4 separate regions of the Homo sapiens genome follow, and all the other regions are linked to region 1. The links are contacts of gene promoters, found by promoter capture Hi-C in human tissues and cell types (Jung and others, 2019). All regions are on one chromosome and are shown on one strand. The core of a region is centred on a gene start or on the middle of the fragment in contact, and the rest is flanking DNA. Distances in the headings are between cores, read along the strand shown. Region 1 holds the start of DHDH (dihydrodiol dehydrogenase). Region 2 has its middle 12 kb from the start of FGF21. Region 3 overlaps BCAT2 (branched chain amino acid transaminase 2). Region 4 holds the start of FUT2 (fucosyltransferase 2 (H blood group)).

What was found. The method cuts DNA at HindIII sites, captures the fragments that hold promoters and counts their contacts. A contact is called where the count stands out against the background at its distance.
Region 2: a fragment that was not itself captured here is called in contact with the fragment with the promoter of DHDH in region 1 in 3 of the 25 tissues and cell types used here (adrenal gland, dorsolateral prefrontal cortex and spleen).
Region 3: a contact is called between a fragment that was not itself captured here and the fragment with the promoter of DHDH in region 1, in 1 of the 25 tissues and cell types used here (spleen).
Region 4: a contact is called between the fragment with the promoter of FUT2 here and the fragment with the promoter of DHDH in region 1, in 1 of the 25 tissues and cell types used here (dorsolateral prefrontal cortex).

The regions. Positions count from the first base shown.
Region 1 is chr19:48,932,249-48,934,948 of GRCh38, reverse strand. DHDH (dihydrodiol dehydrogenase) reads right to left here and starts at 1,250. Exons shown (of 7, transcript NM_014475.4): 1 at 1,138-1,250. The coding sequence starts at 1,227. RefSeq lists an enhancer at 1,176-1,677. The HindIII fragment of the contact is 30,682 bases long and covers 1-2,700 here.
Region 2 is chr19:48,766,669-48,769,368 of GRCh38, reverse strand. No RefSeq gene overlaps it. Among named protein-coding and RNA genes, the nearest start is that of FGF21, 12 kb to the right of the region's middle. The HindIII fragment of the contact is 4,374 bases long and covers 1-2,700 here.
Region 3 is chr19:48,794,749-48,797,448 of GRCh38, reverse strand. BCAT2 (branched chain amino acid transaminase 2) reads left to right here. Exons shown (of 11, transcript NM_001190.4): 7 at 116-258; 8 at 427-512; 9 at 731-871; 10 at 947-1,021; 11 at 1,985-2,385. The coding sequence ends at 2,023. Among named protein-coding and RNA genes, the nearest start is that of BCAT2, 15 kb to the left of the region's middle. RefSeq lists enhancers at 694-1,329, 1,927-2,106, 2,147-2,216. The HindIII fragment of the contact is 3,051 bases long and covers 1-2,700 here.
Region 4 is chr19:48,694,653-48,697,352 of GRCh38, reverse strand. It overlaps FUT2 (fucosyltransferase 2 (H blood group)), which reads right to left and starts at 1,382. Exons shown (of 2, transcript NM_000511.6): 1 at 1,264-1,382. RefSeq lists enhancers at 420-983, 1,548-2,111. The HindIII fragment of the contact is 31,324 bases long and covers 1-2,700 here.

The DNA.
Region 1 (2,700 bases), core at 1-2,500:
GGGTGGAAGGGAGGCAAAGGAGGAGGCTCTGGCCAGGGGAAGGGGAGACGTGGTCCTGGGGGAAGAGATGACGGGGGCTGGACATTTGGGCCCTGGGAAAGAGAGATCTGGGGGAAAGCCGTTATTAAATCCCCCAATATTGAAATTATCTTCATAGTAGCTTACATCAAGGCCTTTCCAAACCTCAAGACACTCAGGTTTGTGTGGGGAAAAGAAAGAGAGATCAGATTGTTACTGTGTCTATGTAGAAAAGGAATCTGTATCATGAATAAGTTCAAGGAAAGGTGCTGTGACCGGATGTGCACGTAGGCTAGATTTATGTTTCACTTTACACAAACATCTCAGTGTAGCAAAGAGTAACAGAGCAGTATCACTGCCAGCATATCTCGCCTCCAGCCACAGGTAGGTTTTCTCCTATCTCAGAATAGAAGGAATGGGAATGGTCCGCTTTACACTGAGACAGTCCATTCCCAGGGAGAGCAGGAGACAGAAGCCTTCCTCTTATCTCAACTGCAGAGAGGCCTCCCTCTTTCACTACTCCTCCTCAGCACAGACCCTTTACTGGTGTCGGGCTAGGGGATGTAAGGTCTTCCTTTCCCACGAGGCCATATCTCAGGCTTTCTCAGTGGGGGGAAACCCTGGACAATACCCAGGCTTTCTTGGGCAGAGGTCCCTGCGGCTTTCCGCAGTGCAATGTGCCCCTGGTTAATAGAGAATGGAGAATGGCGATGACTTTTACCAAGCATACTGCCTGCAAACATATTGTTAACAAGGCACATCCTGCAAAGCCCTAAATCCATTAAACTTTGATTCAATACAGGACATGTTTCTGTGAGCACACGGTTGGGGCTAAAGTTACAGGTTAATAGCATCTCAAAGCAGAAACAATTTTTCTTAGTACAGTTCAAAATGGAGTTTCTTATGTCTTCATTTTCTACGTAGACACAGTAACAATCTGATCTTTCTTTTCCCCACAGGTTTGCAGAACAGAGATGGAGAAGGAGGTAGCAAGGAAACAGACGTTTCACTGCAATGACGACCCACTCACTAGTCCTGAACCCTAAACTCCCTCCTCCTTTAGACTCTGGAGTCCCGCCCCCCGCCTCCTCTTCCCCAGAATCCGGAGGGCGGGCAGACCTGGTGCTCAGAGCGAGGCAGCGTCTGCAGCACGGCTGTGAAGTCGCTGGAGATGAGGCCGACAGACACGATGCCCCAGCGCAGCGCCATGGTTGCGATGCGGAGCCCTCGGCACCTTCGGTCCCTCCAGGCGCGAATTAAGTACCTGACGCCCCGCCCACCCCGGGGGCGGGTCCCCATCCTCCGCCCGTATTGCGCCTACGCCGATTCTCGTTGGCTCCAGTCGGCAGAGCGGTCATTTAGTTCTAGCTTCCCCGCTGGGCGAATGCACCGTTTAGCTCCGCCTTACAGAGGGAACCACACCTTGACGTCGCTTCTACAGATCTCTTACCTATGACTTTAGGCTCGTCGGATACGCGGGGTAAGGACAGCGTGGGGAGGAGAGGTTTGCTTTCTTGCCAACACCAATCCTTGAGAGTTAGATTTAATGTCTTGCCCTCTGGACTTTGTGGCAAAACTTTGCCCTGACTTTTTTGCTCTCAAAGCCACGCATCATTAGGGGTTGTTCACAGAGAGAGAGAGGATTGTAACAGCAAACTTAATAATTATTACTAATATGTATAGAGCACCTGTAGACCAGCTCCTCAGCTCTGCGCTTTACCTTCTTCGTTCCTAATTTCTCCCCGCAGACCTGGGAAGTAGCTTCTATTGTCCCCAGTTCACAAAGGGGGAAACAGACTCCAAGATCCCTGGTCATTTTTTGGAGGTCTCACAGTCAGGAGGTAAAGACCTGTGAATTGGCTGCTTCCAGAAGCTATAGTTTTAGAAACCAGGCTGCTTTGCTTGTTAGGAGCCCCAGAGCCTGGCCGACTGGTTTCAAAACCCTCCTTGCCCCTTCTTGGCTGTATTGCTTTTGGACAAGAGGTCGCCCTCTCTGGTCCTCACTTTTCTATTCTGGAAAGCAGAGATCATGATAACATCTACCTACATAGGGTTGTGAGGAGGATTCATTGAGCTCTATGGTCTATTATGTAAAATATACTGTATTATTATAATTATTATTGATATAGGGTCTCGCTCTGTCGCCCAGGAAGGAGTGCAGTGGCACAATCATAGCTCACTGCAGCCTCAAATTCCTTAGCTCAAGGAATTAGCTCCTGCCTTAGCCACCCTAGTACCTGGGACTACAGTAGCTGGGACCCAAAGTAGCTACTGGCTACTACACCTGGCTAATTATTTTGTTTTATTTATTAATTATTTTAGAGATAGGGTCTCACTCTGTTACCTAGCTGGACTGCAGTGGCGTGATAATAGCTCACAGCAGCCTTGTACTCCTGGGCTCAAGCTATCTTCCCGCCTCAGCCTCCTGAGTAGCTGGGAGTATAGGCATGTGCCCCACTTACCGCTATTTGTTTGTTTGTTTGTTTGAGACGGAGTCTCACTCTATCCCCAGGCTGGAGTGCAGTGGTGTGATCTCAGCTCACTGCAACCTCCGCCTCCCTGGTTCAAGTGATTCTCCTGCCTCAGCCTCCTGAGTAGCTGGGACCACAGGCGCCCTCCACCATGCCCAGCTAATTTTTTTTATTTTTAGTGGAGACAGGGTTTCACCATGTTGGCCAGGAT
Region 2 (2,700 bases), core at 108-2,607, 170 kb after region 1:
TCCATGTACAAAAGCTTCTCAGTCATTCAAGGAGCTCACCACCATGTTTTCAACAAATGGGGCTGGAAAAAGTGGCCAGGAGCTGAAGGGAGGAGAATTGGGGAAGTGGGATTTAATTGCGGCAGAGAGTTTCAATTTTATCAGATGAAAAAATTCTGAAGATTGGTTGTGCAACAATGTGAATATACTTAACGCGACTTAACTGTACACTTAGAAATGATTCAGGTGCCGTGGGGTTATGATACAGATTGGTTTTCGGCCAGGTGCAATGGCTTACGCTTGTAATCCAACACTTTGGGTGGCCGAGGCGGGCAGATCACTTGAGGTCAGGAGTTCTGAGAGCCGCCTGGCCAACATGGTGAAACCCTGTCTCTACTAAAAATACAAAAATTAGCCGGGCATGGTAGCGCAAACCTGAAGTCCCAGCTACTTGGGAGGCTGAAGCACGAGAATCTCTTGAACCCGGGAGGCGGAGGTTCCAGTGAGCCCACTGCACTCCAGCCCGGGCAACAGAGCGAGATTCTTTCTCTCAAAAAAAAACAAAAAAAAAAAACAAAAAAAACAAAAACAAAAACAAAAAACCTCCAAAAAATTAGCCAGGTGGAGGCACCTGTAATCTGAGCCACTTAGGAGGCTGAGGCAGGAGAATTGCTTGAACCTGGGAGGCAGAGGTTGCAGAGAGCTGAGATTGTGCCACTGCACTCCAGCCTGGGCGACAGTGACCCTGTCCCCCTCCACCCCTCCGAAAAAAAAAGAAAAGAAAACAAGAACAGTAGTCAAATCTCTAGGGGCTCCAGTGAGTAGGTGAGGATAGGGTGTGGTGGAGAAGCTGAAAGATGCTAAATAGCCTGGCTCCCCAGGGATCTGGGAAGTGCTCACTCAGTAGAACCTCCCTCTTGGAAGGACGAAGCTCCACACTGGTGAAAACTAATAGAGAAACAAAACCCAAACTGATCTTGGCAGGCGCTCAGAGAGTAAAGCAGAGGGAAGGTTCTGATAATGGTGGGGGCAAGAACCAAGGAGATAGAGTTTGCTCCTGAACGTTGGAGAGGTGGCTGTGCTGAGTGGTTATATATTGCATACAATACTGTGGGGAAACAGCAAAGAGTCAGCCTATTTATTTATTTGTTATTTATATATTTAATTTTTTGAGACAGGGGCTCGCTCTGTCACCCAGGCTGGAGTGCAGTGGTGTGATCTTGGCTCACTGCAACCTCCGCCTCCTGGGTTCAAGCGATTCTCCTGCCTCAGCCTCCCGAGTAGCTGGGATTACAGGTGCCCACCACCATGCCCAGATAGTTTTTTTGTTTTGTTTTGAGATGGAGTCTTGCTCTGTTGCCCAGGTTGGAGTGCAGTGGCGTGATCTCAGCTCACTGCAGCCTCTGCCTCCTGGGTTCAAGAGATTCCTGTGCCTCAGCACTTTGGGAGGCCGAGGCAGGCGGATCATGAAGTCAGGAGAACGAGACCATCCTGGCTAACATGATGAAACCCCGTCTCTACTAAAAATACAAAAACAAAATTAGCTGGGCGTGGTGGTGGGTGACTGTAGTCCCAGCTACCCGGGAGGCTGAGGCAGAAGAATGGCGTGAACGCGGGAAGTGGAGCTTGCAGTGAGCCGAGATCGCTCCACTGCACTCCAGCCTGGGCGACAGAGCGAGACTCCATCTCAAAAAAAATAAAAAATAAAAAATAAATAAGAGATTCCTGTGCCTCAACCTCCCAAGTAACTGGGACCGCAGGTGTGCACCACCACGCCCAGCTAATGTTTGTAATTTTAGTAGAGACAGGGTTTCACCTTGTTGGGCAGACTGGTCTGGAACTCCTGACCTCAGGGGATTCGCTCACCTTGGCCTCCCAAAGTGCTGGGATTACAGGCGTGAGCCACTGTGACCGGCAAAACTTTTAAGATTTTTAAGGCTCAGAAAGCTATCCTGGCCCACCCTAATGTCAACTGTGCAACTTCCTCCTAAGGGTACGGCTCACTTAAATGAGAGAAAAAGAAGAGGAGTGTGAGGCCAGGTGCGGTGGCTTACGCCTGTAATCCCAGCACTGTGGGAGGCCAAGGCAGGCGTATCACCTGAGGTCAGGAGTTCGAGACCAGCCTGACCAACATGGAGAAACCCTGTCTCTACTAAAAATACAAAATTAGCCAGATGTGGTGGCACATGCCTGTAATCCCAGCTACTTGGGAGGCTGAGGCAGGAGAATTGCTTGAACCCGAGAGGCAGAGGTTGCAGTGAGCCGAAATCATGCCATTGCACTCCAGCCTGGGCAACAAGAGAGAAACTGTCTTAAAAAAAAAAAAAAAAAGAAGAAGAAGAGGAGTGTGACTAACTCCGTGTAGAGGTGTGCATTGGGGAAATAGCGTCCTGGAAGCTTCATGTCTACCTGGTACCGCTGAATGTGTCCTTACTTGGAAATACGGCCTTTGTAGATGAAATCAAGTTCAGGTGAGGTTATACCGGGTTGGGGTGTGCGCTAAGTCCTATATGATTGGTGTCCTTATAGGAAGAGGGAAATTAAGACAAAGAGCCAAGCGTGGTAGCTCACACCTATAACCCCAGCACTTTGAGAGGCCGAGGTGGGAGGATTGCTTGAGCCCAGGAGTTCAAGACCAGCCTGGCCAACATGACCCTGTCTGTACCAAAGTAAAAGTTAAAAGAACTAGCCAGGGCCAGGTGCAGTGGCTCACGCTTGTAA
Region 3 (2,700 bases), core at 66-2,565, 140 kb after region 1:
CCCTGTGAGAGCTGTGAGCAGGGAGACGGGAGAGAGTAGGATGAGCCTCCTCTGGGGCTGGGCTGGGGAAGGATGGGGCTCCCTTGCCCCACCCAACCAGACTGCCCTCCACCAGGAATTATGGGCCCACCGTGTTAGTGCAACAGGAGGCACTCAAGCGGGGCTGTGAACAGGTCCTCTGGCTGTATGGGCCCGACCACCAGCTCACCGAGGTGGGAACCATGAACATCTTTGTCTACTGGACCCACGAAGATGGGGGTAAGCCCACCCATGACCCAGCCCGAACCCTGGTGGAAGTGGGTGGCACCATCATTCCTGGCAGGTTACAGGCCCCAGGGATTCTGGGATGGGGGAAGGGGGTGGCTCTTAAGACGGCGGTGCTAGGGGGTGAGAGGTAACATCTTCCACCCCTTACACCTGCCCTAGTGCTGGAGCTGGTGACGCCCCCGCTGAATGGTGTTATCCTGCCTGGAGTGGTCAGACAGAGTCTACTGGACATGGCTCAGACCTGGGTGAGGACATGGCATCTTCTGGTGATGGGCGCCATGTGCCAGGGGCCAGGGCATCAGAGGGCTGGGACTGGGGCACACTGGCATGTCTCTGCCCCTTCTCCTGGGTCTGTCTCTCCCGTTGGGCCTCTGTCTTTCTCACTATCCTCAGGGAGGGAGAGGTGGAGGTCTGCAGCAGGGCAACCCTCTGGGGACACGTGTCTCTGCCAACTGCCCTGCAGGGTGAGTTCCGGGTGGTGGAGCGCACGATCACCATGAAGCAGTTGCTGCGGGCCCTGGAGGAGGGCCGCGTGCGGGAAGTCTTTGGCTCGGGCACCGCTTGCCAGGTCTGCCCAGTGCACCGAATCCTGTACAAAGACAGGGTGAGGCGGGGCTGCCATTGTGGGTGGGAGGGAAGGAGGGGAGGGGCTTGGTCCTCACCGCACCTTCTGTCCCAGAACCTCCACATTCCCACCATGGAAAATGGGCCTGAGCTGATCCTCCGCTTCCAGAAGGAGCTGAAGGAGATCCAGGTGAGCTGCAGGGAGCTGGGGAATGGGCTGGGAGCTTGTTCCCTGGAGAAGTTGGTGTCCCATGAGCCCCTGGACTAACAGCCAGCCTCCTTCAGTAGTACCAGGAACAGATAATGGCCTTTCTTATTGAGGCCCTGGAGAGTGGGCTTTCTGTGCTGCTCTGTGGCCTGGAAAACCCCTTGGGGCTAAATCACCCTTTCCTGGGAGCTCCCGGAGCCCTGGATATGTCTTCAGCTTTGGAAACCCCTTCCTGTGATCCTCTGCGGCTCCTGGGTGCCCTGGTAGGAGAAACCCCCTCTCCGTGGGCCTCTGAGGCCCCTGGGTGCCCTGGTGGGAGAAACTCCCTCCCTGTGATCCTCTGCTGCCCCGGGTGCCCTGGTGGGAGAAAGGCCCTTTCCATGAATCACTGAGACCTTAGCCAGCCCTCTGGCCATCTCAGAGGTTGGCCTCCCAAGATTCCCTGGAGCCCTGGGCTATCCCTTTGGCCGGAGAAAGCTTCCTCCCATGAGCCTCTGGACCTTGGCCCCTCTCTGGCACCAGACTGTTTAATCCCATAAATCTCTGGGGGTATTCCCATCTTCTGGGCCAAGATCTCTTTCCCAAGAATCTCTGGGCTCCTTTCCCAGACCTAGAGCTACATTTCTGTAAACTTTTGTGCATCAGGACCTAGAACTACACATCCTCTGACTATCTGGGCTTTCTGAGCTGAAAGTGACTTTTTCCAAGAGCCTTAGAGGCCTGGCCATAATTCCTGTCTTCAGAACTACATCTCCCGGAAGCCTCTGCGCCGCCTTAGCCTTGATTCCCCGTTCCCATCATTGTTGGGGCCCTCTGGGAAGTGGACTACATTTCCCGTGAGCCGCTGGGGCACAGCTCCGTAGGCACTCGGCCTGGAACACCCCAGGGCCTACTGGGAGTTGTAGTGCAGCTTCCACCTCACGCACTGCCTCCGTTGTTCCGCAGTACGGAATCAGAGCCCACGAGTGGATGTTCCCGGTGTGAAGCTGCAGGCTGTGCTCCAGATCCACCGACCCGTAGCATCTCGTCACGCCAGCACTCGCCTCCCTACCAATGACTCACCTGAAGTGCAATACGAAATAAAAGGCCAGCGGGCGGCGTCTGGGTCTCTGGCGCCCCCATGTGGTTGCGACACTCCCAAAGCCGTAAGGGCCGACCCAGGCATCTTGGCCCCCAGCCCCTCGTCGCGGGTTCAGGTCCGCCCATTACTCCTTGTCGTGCGGTCAAGGATACACCTTGGCCCCGATTCCGGATCTCTCCGTTCTCAGGCCAGACCCCTGGTGCTGCCGTTGATTTTTTTTTCTCTGTCTTTGCTGCAATTTTGAAATAAAATGCCAAAGAACACACATTGTCGGGCTTCTTCAGTGACGTGACTCTGGGGCTTTAACCCAGGAATCCTGCTTCCTCAGCCCATTTTATTCTGAAGGACTCAGTCATCCGAGCCCCCAGTGTTCTGATGGTTTCTCCAACCTGGGGGAGCATTTCATGTCTCCGGCACTGAACTTACTATCTGCCCCCCACCAACCAGCTCCTCCCCTACTTTCCCGTCTCCCAGTCTCTAGGCCGGACCCCTAGGTGCTGCATCCTTTTCTCTCAAAGCCCACGAGGCCCCGATCCCTGTTCCTCCTGCCCCCGACTCTGCTGTCCGTTCCCCCGCCTCT
Region 4 (2,700 bases), core at 133-2,632, 240 kb after region 1:
TTTTTTTGAGACGGAGTTTTGCTCTTGTTCCCCAGGCTGGAGTGCAATGGCACAATCTCGGCTCACCACAACCTCCGCCTCCCGGGTTCAAACGATTCTCCTGCCTCAGCCTCCCGAGTAGCTGGGATTACAGGCATGCACCACCACGCCTGGCTAATTTTGTATTTTTAGTAGAGACGGGGTTTCTCCATGTTGGCCAGACTGGTCTCGAACTCCTGACCTCAAGTGATCCGCCTGTCTCGGCCTCCCAAAGTGCTGGGATTACAGGCGTCAGCCACCACGTCCAGCCCCGTCCACGTCTTTCTATTGCGGCCCGGCTTCCTCCTCTCCCCTCTGTCCCCTACACCCAGCGCCGGCCCTGCCCCTTCCCAGCTCGCAGCCCCTTCAGGGCTCCCTATGCCTCTTAAGACACAATCCCAGTCTCTCGCCGGCCCCGCACACCCCTCCGGCTTTGTCACCAGCTGTTCCCGTGAAATAACCCAGCTCTCCGCTCACCCGGGGCCCCGTCCTGTCCCCCAGCTCTGAAAGCCTTTCTCTACCCCAACCGCCCCGTGCCCCGGGCAGCTCAGCACATCCGGCTCAGTCGCACCCCACTGCCTCGAGCTCGCTGTCTTCCTGCACCTCCCCGGGATTCCCGGATTCCCGGCATTATCACTTCCACCCTGGGGAGGAGAAGGGAGCTTCAGACAATAACGTAGGGCCATCACTTGGAAACCCCACCTTTATTCTCCGACCCAGAACAGAAGCGGTGATTCAGAGCGGGATTAGGGAGTGCAGGAGGGACGGAGCCGCCCTCCCTGGGCGACGGCAGGGCTCGGAGGTGAGACCAGCAGTTTGGGTTCCATGAAGCCTCTGAGGAGCCCCAGGGTGGAGGCAGGAAAGTCGGGTCACCACCAGCTGTGCGCGAGCCATCTGCACCATTACTGCCAGGGTGGTTCATAGAAACTGCTGAGGGGAAGGAGACAAGGAAGGACCTGGTGGCCCGGGGTGGAGAAGGGGAGGGAGCTGGTGGTTGGAGCTCTAGAAACAGATCCACCTGGAAGGAAGTGGGGAGGGAGCTAAGGAGGGCGGCTGGCTGGGGAGGGGGGTCCTGGCTGCCGAGGGAGGGACCCTCCTCTCCTGGAGGTCCTGAGTTGGGGGTGCCTCCCAGAGGGCACCAGGGACCCACGAGGGCACACAGGTCCACGTCCCAAATCCCTGCTCTCCGCCTGGGCGTGTGTGCAGAGGTGTGCGTGTTGTAGGGTGGGAGAGGAGCCCCCTCACCTTCTCTCACCTGGTCCTGCTGAAGGAAACCGGGACAGAGTGGTTGGGCAGGCACCTCAGTGTTCCCTCTGGGTCTCTCTTCACTCAGGGCCAAAGAAACCCTTCCAGCATCGGTGACTGGCAAACCCCGCCCAGGAGCTACAGGGCTTTCCAGAGCAGGTGTGGCTGGGCTGCGGGAGGGAGGTGAGCCCGTAGCCCCTCCTCCCTCCCCATTGCCGGCCACAAAGTCCATCTTGTTATCTACCCTTAGCTCCTCCACCTGCACCAGGCACCCCAAGCCTGGCCATAAGGGTGGGGGAGAGAGGCAGGACAAGGTCGCATCCCCCATCCGGGTCCCCGAGGGTCTTCCTTGGGGAACTGTTGTGATGCCCCAACAGAAAGGGGCCCCCACTCTGCTCCGCTCCTCCAGGCAGCCAGGAAGGCCTCCAGGAAGGCAGCATGGAGGCGGGGGACAGAGTCCTGCTAGGCCAGGCTCTCGCTGACTCTGAGTCCCCTCAGAGTCTTATATTTATTTATTAATTAATTATTAGTAGTATTACTTTTTGAGAGAGTTTTGCTCTTGTTGCCCAGGCTGGAGTGCAATGGCGTGATCTCAGCTCACTGCAACCGCCGCCTCACAAGTTCAAGGGATTCTCCTGCCTCAGCTTCCCAAAGTGCTGGGATTACAGACGTGAGCCACCTCGCCCTGCCTATTTCAAAAAAATTTTTAAATACAAATGGGCCCGGTGTGGTGACTCACACCTGTAATTCTAGCACTTTGGGAGGCCGAGGCAGGCGGATCAACTGAGGTCAGGAGTCAGAGACCAGCCTGGCCAACAAGGTGAAACCCCGTCCTTATAAGAATACAGAAATTAGCCATGGCCCAGCACAGTGGCTCATGCCTGTAATCCCAGCACTTTGGGAGGCCGAGGCAGGTGGATCACCTGAGGTCAGGAGTTTGAGACCAGTCTGGCCAACATGGTGAAACCCTGTCTCTACTAAAAATGCAAAAATCAGTGGGGCGTGGTGGCATGCACCTGTAATCCCAGCTACTTGGGAGGCTGAGGCAGGAGAATCGCTTGAACTTGGGAGGCGGAGGTTGCAGTAAACTGAGATTACACCATTGCACTCCAGCCTGGGAAACAAGAGCAAAACTCTGTCTCAAAAAAAAAAAAGATGGATGAGGAATTTTACTGAGAGAAGAGGCAGGCACCACCAGAGCTCCCAGCAGTCCTAACAGGAGGAAAGAGAAACCAGCAGCCACTCCCCAGCTTCAGCTAAGCAGCAGGAGGCTACCTACCAGCTACGGAGCTCCCTTCAAACAAACAAACAAAAAAATCAGATCAAGCTTCCCACTCTAACCACCAGTTTGCAGAAAACAGGAGGACAAAGTTCCCAGTGAAACGACACCATGAGGCAGCAATCAGCCCAGTCCAGAATGTGAGCCCGTCCACAGGA